3 separate regions of the Homo sapiens genome follow, and all the other regions are linked to region 3. The links are contacts of gene promoters, found by promoter capture Hi-C in blood cells and fetal thymus (Javierre and others, 2016). All regions are on one chromosome and are shown on one strand. The core of a region is centred on a gene start or on the middle of the fragment in contact, and the rest is flanking DNA. Distances in the headings are between cores, read along the strand shown.

What was found. The method cuts DNA at HindIII sites, captures the fragments that hold promoters and counts their contacts. A CHiCAGO score of 5 or more calls a contact.
Region 1: a contact is called between a fragment that was not itself captured here and the fragment with the promoter of LIG3 in region 3, in 16 of 17 cell types (megakaryocytes, activated CD4 T cells, erythroblasts and 13 more). The highest score is 11.9, in megakaryocytes.
Region 2: the fragment with the promoter of UNC45B here is called in contact with the fragment with the promoter of LIG3 in region 3 in 1 of 17 cell types (activated CD4 T cells); the score reaches 5.3 in activated CD4 T cells.

Annotation. Positions count from the first base shown.
Region 1 is chr17:35,127,928-35,131,325 of GRCh38, forward strand. It overlaps FNDC8 (fibronectin type III domain containing 8), which reads left to right. Exons shown (of 4, transcript NM_017559.4): 3 at 1,495-1,731; 4 at 2,355-2,805. The coding sequence ends at 2,507. NLE1 (notchless homolog 1) reads right to left here. Exons shown (of 13, transcript NM_018096.5): 13 at 803-3,398. Among named protein-coding and RNA genes, the nearest start is that of FNDC8, 8.0 kb to the left of the region's middle. The HindIII fragment of the contact is 1,966 bases long and covers 1,147-3,112 here.
Region 2 is chr17:35,145,974-35,149,610 of GRCh38, forward strand. It overlaps UNC45B (unc-45 myosin chaperone B), which reads left to right and starts at 1,844. Exons shown (of 20, transcript NM_001267052.2): 1 at 1,844-1,937; 2 at 2,291-2,458; 3 at 3,000-3,036. The coding sequence starts at 2,291. The HindIII fragment of the contact is 5,031 bases long and covers 1-3,056 here.
Region 3 is chr17:34,978,998-34,982,730 of GRCh38, forward strand. It overlaps LIG3 (DNA ligase 3), which reads left to right and starts at 1,515. Exons shown (of 20, transcript NM_013975.4): 1 at 1,515-1,625. RefSeq lists a silencer at 1,540-1,969. The HindIII fragment of the contact is 8,847 bases long and covers 1-3,733 here.

The sequences.
Region 1 (3,398 bases), core at 880-3,379, 150 kb after region 3:
AATTTGCATTAGTAACAGATTCCCAGAGGATGCTGTGGCTCCCCGTCCGCGGGCTACACGTCGAACAACACCGTCCTACACTATGGGAAGTGAAGACAGGGGACAGGATGGGGAATGTTAGTCTGGGATCATCTTCCAGAGTCCTCCAGTGTTAGACTACTTTATAGACTTTTCTGTAAGTAATAGGGAACAGCTTTGTAAAAAGCTTCACATCAGATGATGAAAGCAATTCGAGCTGTATCTTGGGAGGATGCCTGGAATTCCACTGTTGGATGGCCCAGAGCAGTGTTTCTCAAAGTGCTCTCCAGATGGACAATGTCAGCATCACTCAGCAAATTGTTACAAATTTAAATTCTCATCTCCCTCCACCACATTTGGGCCTCCTGAGTCAGAAACTGTTGGGGCGGAGCCCAGTAATCTATCTTTTAATAAGTCCTCCAGGGTATTCTAATGCACACCAAGTTTGACAAACACTGGCCTAGATGGAGGAGAAACCAGACAGGAGGCAGCAGGCCCAGAAATCTGCAGTTACAAAATCTCCCTGAGATGCTTAGCCAGGCTTGGCAACCATTGTAGTACAAAGTGTATGGGCTCTGGAGCTATGGGTTTGAACACTGGCTGTCACTTAATTGCCGTATGATGATGGACCAGTCACTTGCCCTCTCTGGACCTAGTCGATAAGATGATCTCTAAGGTCCCTCTCAGCTAACAGAGTCTAGACAGAGTCTAGAACCAACCTTTTTGGCACCAGGGACTGGTTTCATGGAAGATAATTTTTCCATGGATCCGGTTGGGGGGATGGTTTCAGGATGAGTCAAGCATATTACATTTATTGTGTACTTTATTTCTATTATTATTACATTGTAATATATAATGAAATAATTATACAACTCACCATAATGTAGAAACTGTGGGAGCCCTGAGCTTGTTTTCCTGCAACGAGAGGGTCCCATTTGGGGGTGATGGGAGACAATGACAGATCATCAGGCATTAGATTCTCATAAGGAGCATTCAACTTAGATCCCTCCCATACAATTCACAATAGGGTTCACGTGCCTATGGGAATCTAATGCCTCTGCTGATCTGACAGGAGGCAGAGCTCAGGTGGTACCCTGAGCCGTGGGGAGCAGCTGTAAATACAGATGAAGCTTCGCTTGCTCGCCCACCAATCTCCTCCTGCTGTGCTATCCAGTTCCTAACAGGCCATGGACTGCTATCAGTTGGTGGCCCAAGGGTTGAGGACCCCTGGCGTATAAGAAATATGGAATGAGGGTGTACCCTAAAGTGGGTGGGGCTGCCCAGGAGAGTAGTACATGCTTCGGGGCAGGGGTTCCACACTCAGTGCTGCAGTACCTTGCACCTTCCATCTGACCTGCCTGGGCCCCAGCAGGAGCAGGGGATGGGCATGGGACGTCCTGACCCCAGTTGGGAGGGTGAAGGGACAGGAAGGACAGGACATATCTGAGGAAGCCTCGGGGCTCTCTCTTCCCCTAGATTTCCTGGACCTACGCCTTGGGCAAGCAGCCGGTCAGTTTCTACCAGCTCCTGTTACAGGAGGTGGCCAAGACACAGGAGAATGAGTTGCCCGAGGCAAAGAATCGTCCATGGATCTTCAACAAGATTTTGGGCACTACTGTCAAGCTGATGGAGCTAAAGCCTAACACGTGTTACTGCCTCAGTGTCCGTGCAGCCAACACAGCTGGGGTGGGGAAGTGGTGCAAGCCCTACAAAGTGAGCCCTGGGAAAAGAGGGGCCTTGGGGGTGGAGAGAAGTCCAAAGCCAGGGAACCAGGGCTTTGGAGGTTGGGAACACCCCTATGCCCACATGACTCATCTGGCTAGCTTTCCTTCTGCCTGGGTCAAGAAGCATCAATTCCAGAATGCATGCTTCTGGGAGGTTTAAGGATTAAGCCACTCTGGGGCCCACTAGGAATGCAAACGAATGTATTTTTCAACATCACTATAATGTTCCCCTTCCAAAGCCATTGGTTTTTAGACTCTGCAATTCAGTGCCCATGATTGTGAGTAGGCTGGGAAGTCAAGGGCATTGAAAGAAATAGGGAAGACAAGAGGCTAAAGGGGGACGAAGAAGGGAACAGCCTGGGTATGGGGTAGGGGTATGGGGGTATAGAGGCCTGAGTACAGACAGCCCTTTGGTTGGAAATATCCCATAATGAGGAGGTACAGGCTTGAGTCATGCATCTTTGCACCTGTTTCCTGCGTCAATGGCTAGGTTGGATAAGGCTGTTTAAGGTCTGAGTCAGCAGACAGAAAAAAAAGGGGTGATAGAGACAGAGAGAGAGCCAGGTTCAGATCTGGGAAGGAACTCTGAAGGGTTTTCTTGTTTCACTTCAGTTTGCAACCCTGGCCACTGACTTCAGCAGCTTTCCTGAGAACTACCCCATCCAGATCACCGTGCGGCGCAAGGAACCCCGGCAAAAGATCGTGTCCATCGGGCCGGAGGAGATGCGGAGGCTGGAGGATCTGGAATACCTATTTCCCTGTTAAGGGGGAGGGCCCCAGGACACCCCTCACCTACTTTCAGCTTCAACCCCAGGCCCTCAGAAACCAGAGCCATGAGACCTACCATACCACCAGCACCCTGCGGGCCCGGGGTCTGGCAGAGTGGTATGGGCACCCCACCCCTGGGCTGGGGCCAAGGCTACATAGGGGCCCCATTCACCTGGAGGCATCTCAGGCCAGGCCATGCCAGGCTCAGCCACTGCCCACAGCTGCTAGACTCCCTCCTCCTCCAAATCTGGGCTGGGTCTAGGTCCCTCATTAAAGAACTGCAGGTCATCCAGCACCCTAAAGTCTGCTTTATGCTGCAGACAGCCTCAGATGGGCTGGCTGGCACCCACCTCCTAGCTTCCACCAGGACAGAGTCTACATGGGTGGGGAGATAGAAAACAGGCAGCTAGGCAATAGGATGCTGCCATCACCCCTTCCCCAGTGGGGCGGGGTAGGGGAACAGGGAGACTGGTGCTCTAAGACTAAAAGGCTCTTACACCAGAAAAATACAGAAATAGCTGTCATGGACAGACGTGGTGGCCCATGAACTGTCAAACTAGCTTGAGCTCTGGACGGAGGGATGTGGTACAAAGTGCACAATAAGCTTTGGGGCAGGGCCTGGTTTAATCCCAGCTTTCTCTTACTAGATGTGAGGGCATGGGCTAATCATTTCTTATGTTGTTTCCTCATCAAAAGTTTTGGAGCTTGAGAACCTTCCAGGCCTGGTGCAGTCTGAGAGCACAGCAGACAAACAGCTGGCACCAAGGAGCTCAGTGGCTGATAGTTTTGTTCGCTTCTTATGTAGCCTCACTGCAGATATGTGCAAGGTGGAGGCCAAGCACCACAGCTAGGTGACGCGCAAAACCCAAAAGCACAGACAAGGGTGGA
Region 2 (3,637 bases), core at 594-3,093, 170 kb after region 3:
AAGATCAGCCTGGCCAACATGGTGAAACTCCATCTCTACTAAAAATACAGAAATTAGCCAGGCATGGTGGTGGATGTCTGTAATCCCAGCTACTCATGAGGCTGAGGCAGGAGAATCTCTTGAACCCAGAAGGTGGAGGTTGCAGTGAGCCGAGATCGTGCCACTGCACTCCAGCCTGGGCAACAGAGCAAGACTCTGTCTCAAACAACAACAACAACAACAACAAAAAGATGTTTAAGAAATGCTTGTGGAATGAATTACTGAATCAGCATTTGAATATAAGATCCCTTGGACCTAAAGTCACAGAACCGCAGGTCTCTGCCAATGTCAGGATCCTTTATCCTATTACCTCATTGCTGCAGAGAGCTTGCCCCACAAAAGGGCCCAGGGCTTGTGATAACATGAAGGCAGGGAATTCATCCATCTATTCATTCATTTATTTGCTCATTCAACAAACATGTGTTAGGGCTGGGCTTTGTGTCCAGCAGGGCGCTACAACTTGTCCAAGGTCATATAGCTGTGTGTCCAAGGTCACAGGTCTGCGAGTAGAATCTAGTATGAATGATTCCACCTGGGATTTTCTTCAGTGTCTTTCTCAGCTCTGGCCAGATAAGTTTGAAGATATGTGTGGGGTGGAGGGGAGAGGGATGAGAGGTGAGTGGAGGAAATCATCATCATGAAGACACCATTCATTCATTCATTCATTCATCCATCCATTCATTCCATTCAGGAAACACACTTCGGACACTGAATGTGCCAGAACCTGTGCAGGAAGGGGGTTGGGGGACAAGCTATATGGGATGCTGTCTTTGCCTTCCAGGAGGAAGCTCACAGCCCAGGCTTGAGGGCACTGAAATGCAGAAGAGTTCTGGGTCCAACTGGGGACAACGTCATAAATTTGCTTCAGGAACTCCCAGTTAGCTAAGGAGAAACATTCCTGCCTCAGGAGAGACCCCTCTGCAATGGTGAATACATAGTTCTTGTCCCAGGAAGACCCCCTTCTGAGGAGGGAGCCTCAGTGTGTCCCAGGATAGTTTCCAGTCGGGTGGGGAGGACCCTTGGTCTCGGGGGAATTCCCAGTCTGACCCAGCCCTTGCCCTAAGAGATCTCAGCCTGATGGGGGATACACAAAGCCCACTCTCTGGGAGCTAACAGTCAGATGGGAGAGGTAGGCTGAATAGATCCACTCTATACACAGGGGGAGGAACAGGAGACCGCATGTGGACCGAAACTAACGAACCACTCACTCACACTAAACTGAGTTAGCAAGTCCTGTTGGTCTTTCTGAAAAGCAAAGACATTTTGAACAGGTGAAAGCAGGGTGGGTTGAGGTGTTGCGCAGAAGTGGAAAAGGGAAGGAACTTTCTTCCCCTGTTCCTTCCCCGCTCCCTCCAGAAAGGTATTTCTGGAACTCTCCAGTTGGTCTGGGATCTGGGCAACTGCTGTGTGTCCCAGTCTGTCAGCCCCTCAGCTGTCACTCTGCTCCCAAAAATAGCAATGGTTGAGGGGAGGGAGAGGAAGCTGTTTATCTGGGATAGATGTGGAGAGGTGCATTAGAGCTGTGCCCAGGGAGGGAGTCTGCTGGGGGGTTCCTGTCCCTTCTGGATCTTTCTGTCACTCTTTGGAATGTTAGTGCCTAAGCCCCCCACCAGGATAACCCAGAGTGGGGTGCTTGGGCGGAGGCTGGTCAGCACCTCCACGTGGTCATGACTGACCAGTCTGGGGAGGGGGAGGGCCCTGAGTATCAGTGACAGACTCCAGGGGCACCTGCCCCTGTGGCCAAATATGGTCCAGAGCCACTGGCTGAGGCAAGAAAATCTCTTGGGTGGGGGCTGGGAGGGGCAGACTGAGGCTGGCTGGCTGGAGGTTGACACAGGAGTGCTCAGGGGAGCAGCATCACAAGAGGGCAGATCGAAAGCATCGTCCTTGCTGAAAAAGTGAGCATGGGCCTGGGGTGTGCCCTGGACTGGGGAGGGAGACGGCAAACTTCTAAGACCTGCAATGAGAGTTCAGGCCTTTGGCACAAACTAAGCAGCTTCGCCTGCTCAGGCTGGGAGGGACAGAGAGTGAGGCACAGGGACTCTCAACTTGGGCCAAGCTCTGAGCAAATGCTATAATGTCCTCATGGGGCAATAGATTTGGGGGTTCTGGGGGTGGGTCCCTTCCAGGCAGAATCCCCACCATCCTCTCTGGTGTGAGGGGACCCTGGAGCTCCGGACCTCAGGCCAGGAGCCCAGCCCTGGGTCTGCAGTGAGGGGCTGACCAGACAGAGCTTCTCCTGTCCCAGCAGATGGCAGAGGTGGAAGCGGTACAGCTGAAGGAGGAAGGAAACCGGCATTTCCAGCTCCAGGACTACAAGGCCGCCACAAATAGCTACAGCCAGGCCCTGAAGCTGACCAAGGACAAGGCCCTGCTGGCCACGCTTTATCGGAACCGGGCAGCCTGTGGCCTGAAAACGGTCTGGGGCAGGGCAGGGCACAGGGTGGGAGTGAGGCAGAGGGGCTTTGGGGCTGAGTGGCAGCCCCTTCACCCTGATAGAAATTGCCCTTCATCCCAGCCGACTCTCCTGGATGCCTGGGGTTGGAGAAGGGTGCCTCCAACCCCCTGACCCATGCCCCGGAAAGACAGAAATTCATCCAGAGCAGAATCAGCCCAATGCCAGGTGCTTTCATGTGTTATTCATGGCATCTTACTAATGGCCCGTGAGATAGCTGTTGTTGTCCTCCCCCTATCGCAGGTAAGAAACTCGGGATCCAGAGGGCTTCATTCATTAACTTGCCCAAGCTCTCCCAAGTAGTAGCAGAGCCGAGATTCAAACCTGGGTTTGCCTGATGTCAAAGCCTGTCCTCTTTGCCATGCCTGTGAGGAGCATGCCCTGGGCCTCTGACAGCCTGCAGCTCCCCCAGGAAACCCTCTCCCCACACTGTGGGGACACTCTCTGGCCATCTCTGCATTGGGCCCACATTAACCGAGTCTCCTTCTCCTTCCCCTTTCCTCAGGAGAGCTACGTCCAGGCAGCTTCAGATGCCTCCAGAGGTGAGCCCCTCCCACCTCCAAGCTTGCCCTGTCACATTCTCCTCTGCATGGCCTGGGTTTTAATCTAGTTACCATTTTGGGGGAAGAAACAGTGAGTATGGAGTGACTTCAGAAGGGAGAGAACAAGCTGGAGAAGGGACTGGAAACATATCCTGTGAAGAGCAGTTGAGGGAAGCTGCAATATTTAGCCCAGAAAAGGCAACTCCCAGGTGGGTCAGAGAGCTGCCTTCAAATTCCTAAAAGGCTGTCACAAGGAAGAAGGATTGGATTTCATCTCAAGGGTTCCAGGGCTGGGCAATGTTACAGGGAACACATTTCAGGCAGGGAGAGGGAAATGTTTTCTGATTAAGCTGCCTGGCTGTCTTTTGTTGTTGTTGTTGTTTGTTTTGTTTTGTTTTTTGGGTTTTGTTTTGTTTTGTTTTTTTGAGATGGAGTCTTGCTCTGTTGCCCAGACTGGAGTGCAATGGCATGATCTCAACTCACTGCAACCTCTGCCTCCCGGATTCAAGCAATTCTCCTGTCTCAGCCTTCCAAGTAGCCGGGATTATAGGCGTCTGCCACCACGCCCAGCTAATTTTTGTATTTTTAGTAGAGACAAGGT
Region 3 (3,733 bases), core at 265-2,764:
AGTGTGTGCTATGCTTTTATACAACTGGCAATGGAGTAGGTTCGTTTCCACCAGCATCTCCACAAACACATGAGTAATGTGCTGTCACTATATGATAGGGATTTTTCAGCTCCATTATAATCTTATGGGACCACCCTCATATATTTGGTCCATTGTTGGCCTAAATGTCATTATGTGGTACATATTATTAATGAGATATTTTACTTTTTTTAGTATGAATTTTTTGGTGTGTATTTTCTTCACTTATAGCACATCTCAATTCCATGCAACATTCAAGTGCTCAATAGTCACGTGTGGCTAGTGATTACAGCATTGGAAAAAGACAGATACGGTTGAGGAAACTTAAAAAAATGTAGCAAATGTAGTTGTAGAGACGTGCTCAAGATCACTCAATTATCATAGCTAGGACGTGAGTCTCCAGCGACCTTCCAATTGCCTGGTTGAACCAAAGCCCTGGTTCATTCTGCTGCGCATTAAAAGCAGGCTTTACTCCCCTCCAAACAGTAGAATCGCAGTTAAACTTAGTCAAACAAACTTAATGTATCCAATACAAAACTCATCTTTCTAACCCTAACACCTCCTCTTCCTCTCTATTTTCTATTTCAGTTGATGGTACCATTATGTTTCTGCTCACTCAAATTATTATTATTTTATCCATAAACGAGCACTTTATCTAGAAGATCATTTAAATTCTAAATGATCTTCAAAAACGCACTTTACTCTCCACCCTAACTAGCTGAATCATCTCCCACATGGGTCACTATGAGAGCCTTCTGATTTGTTCCCTTGCCTCAGTCTCTCCCCACCCAGCTTCAGCAGTATTCCCTAAGACTCTTCATGGCTCTCCGTCCTCTACAGAGTAAAGACGACACTCTTCATCACACAGCACAGAATTCTCTCGGGAACCTGTTCTTTGCTTACCTAACAAGGCCCAGTTGTTTGCTCTTCCTAGACTCTGAAGAGGTCACTTACCCTCAGGCTGCTACATTTGTAAAAATCGCCATCCCAACTCTCAAAGAGCTGGCTTCAGATTTGAGATAATACACTTTGAATGATATACAATCAAGGAGTTTCTCCTCCATCACTCCTTTACATTTTATATCTATCTGCTGTTTAGTGCCTCGTCTCAATTCCATGAAAGCTACTGAATACAAACTATTTACTAGGGAGTCTGCGGGACACAAACAGAGGGATTATATTTAAAAAATAGATTGACGCGATCTTTGCCTTCCCCGACCTCATTACAATATAGTTTCTCCACCAATATCTTTAAAAACAGATCCTCTCTAACAGTATGAGAAAATCAAGGGGAGCCTCGGAAGTTCAGGCCAGGCTGCGTTCCGAGGAGCCGCCACGTCCCCCCACCTCCGCTTCCCGGGCCGCGATTGCAGGTTGAAAACTACTCCCAAACATCACAGGGCAGGCAGAATGCAACTACGACCCACGTGGCAGACGGGGGCGGGGACCGGTCGCGTGGCCGCGGCCTTGGCTCTTGCGCCTGCGCGCTGCCTCCCGCTCTAGGACCCGGATTTAAAGAGACAGGCGCTCCAACCGTCGTGGGCTGCCCGCGGCCTGTAATGAGCAAGTTCCGAGGCCTACGGTGAGCGCCGGAGCCGGAGAGGCAGGTGAGGGGCTACGCGGCGCGGCACGGCGCGGCGGGGCCCGGCGTGGGGAAGGCAGCGGGCCCGGGGCGAGGAGCTCGGCGCGGCCGGGGAGCCAGCCCCCCGGCTCCTCCCCCGCCCGCCTGCGGAGCCCCGGGGCACACCCTCCGTGACGTGGCGGCCCTCCCGGGAGCCCAGGGGGAGGCTCGCGGCTCCCCGGGACCCCCACGGGGCCGCGTGAGGCGGGGAGGCCGGCGCCCGGGCTGTGTTCCCTGTGGAACCCACGGGGCCTTCTCGTACCCTGGCCCGGCGTGCGTCCTCCTGCGCTGAACCGGGAGCGCTCGGGTGGGACTCAGGGAGCCTTGATCACTTCCCGCCTGCGTCCCGGACCCGGTGGAGGAGCGCTCCTTTCTGCCTCGCCGGGGGTCGCGGCCTACGCCGCCGACCCCACTGTCCCCGCCACTCTCCGACAGCGGCGCGGGAAGCCCTTCGAGAAAAGCGGCGGCGGCCAGGCCTCAGCGATTTCCTTCTCGGGCCCCTGGGCTGCGGCAGTTGTGAGGGTGCGGAACGAGGGACAGACGGGTTTCCTCAAAGCTGCATTGTGCCTCCTCGTGGCCCAGCGCCTCCCGAGCCTCCCTCAAGTCCACTCCTTTCATTATTGGGGCCCTAGAGGTTGCTCTGTAAATTGATCTTCTAGGAAAAGTGTTGAAACTCACTTGTTCTGACCTCCTTTTATGGGTCTGCCGTACTTCCACTTACCTCACCTCTGTGGTTCTTAAACTTTGGGAGTTATATAGCCCTTTGTGAATATCACGAAAGTGATAGACCTCCTCCAAAAAACCGTGCATTTTTATCGAATGTACATTTTGTATACATTTTTAGAGAGCTCAGAACAGCCTCCCTCCCCCACAACCAGCGCATTCATGGATTCCTTGTAATTTTCCCAACTACCCTGTGAGGTAGGTATTATTTACCCTGCTTTAGAAATAAGAAAACAGATGCAGATAAATTAAGAGTTTTCTCCGAGGTAACAGTCAGTAAACTGTACAGTCAGACTTGCACTCCCATCCCTTATTCCAGGTCCACCAGCTTTCCTTCACATCATGTTGCACTACAGTAAGCAAAGCCTGCTTTTTATTATAACGTGACAGCAATTTTGCTTCACAGCGTGTGCAGACTGAACATAATTCCAGTATACTTAAAACTAGGACTATAAAATGCTTTAGAAAACATGAATATAAGAAGATGCTGATATAATCTTTTTCCATTTGGATTGATTTATGAGTTCCTGTGAGTCTTGCTGCCCAGTGACTTCAGCATTCTCTGATTCAAGTTGCTGAATGATAAACAGGTTAATTGCACATCGGAAGCCTCTTCTTGAAAGATAACGACGTCACCGATCATAATAGGAGCTGACGTTAATGAGAGCTCTTGCTGTGTGCCCAACTGTTTTAAGGGTTTTACTCTTAGAACAGCTCTTTAAGTTAGGCCCCATAATTAGCCACATTTTACAGATAAGGAAGCTCAGGAACAGAGGTAAGAAACCCATCAAGGTTATACAGCTGGTAAGTGGCTGAGTTAGGATTTGAACTCAGGCAGTCTGATTCCAGGCTCTGCTTAGTTGTCTCTCAATATAGGGATTCTAACTCAATTCCAAATCTATATAGTGGCTTGATTTCTGAGGATGGCATATGTGTTAAACTTCACAATAAAAACTTCATGAACATAATGTAATTTTTACTGGTGATTAAAACGAAACTTCAGGGCCAGGCACGGTGGCTCATGTCTGTAATCCCAGCACTTTGGGAGGCCGAGGCGGGCGAATCACCTGAGGTCGGGAGTTGGAGACTAGCCTGACCAACAAGAAGAAACCCCGTCTCCATTAAAAATACAAAAAAGTTAGCCGGGCGTGGTGGCGCATGCCTGTAATCCCAGCTACTAGGGAGGCTGAGGCAGGAGAATCGCTTGAACCCGAGAGGAGGAGGTTGCGGTGAGCCAAGATCGCGCCAATGTACTCCAGCCTGGGCAATTAAAGTGAAACTCCGCCTCAAAAAAAAAAAAAAAGAAAGTTCAGGATCTTGTAATACTTAAAGGTCATCATCCATTATGAGTATCATATGTTGCTGATGGCC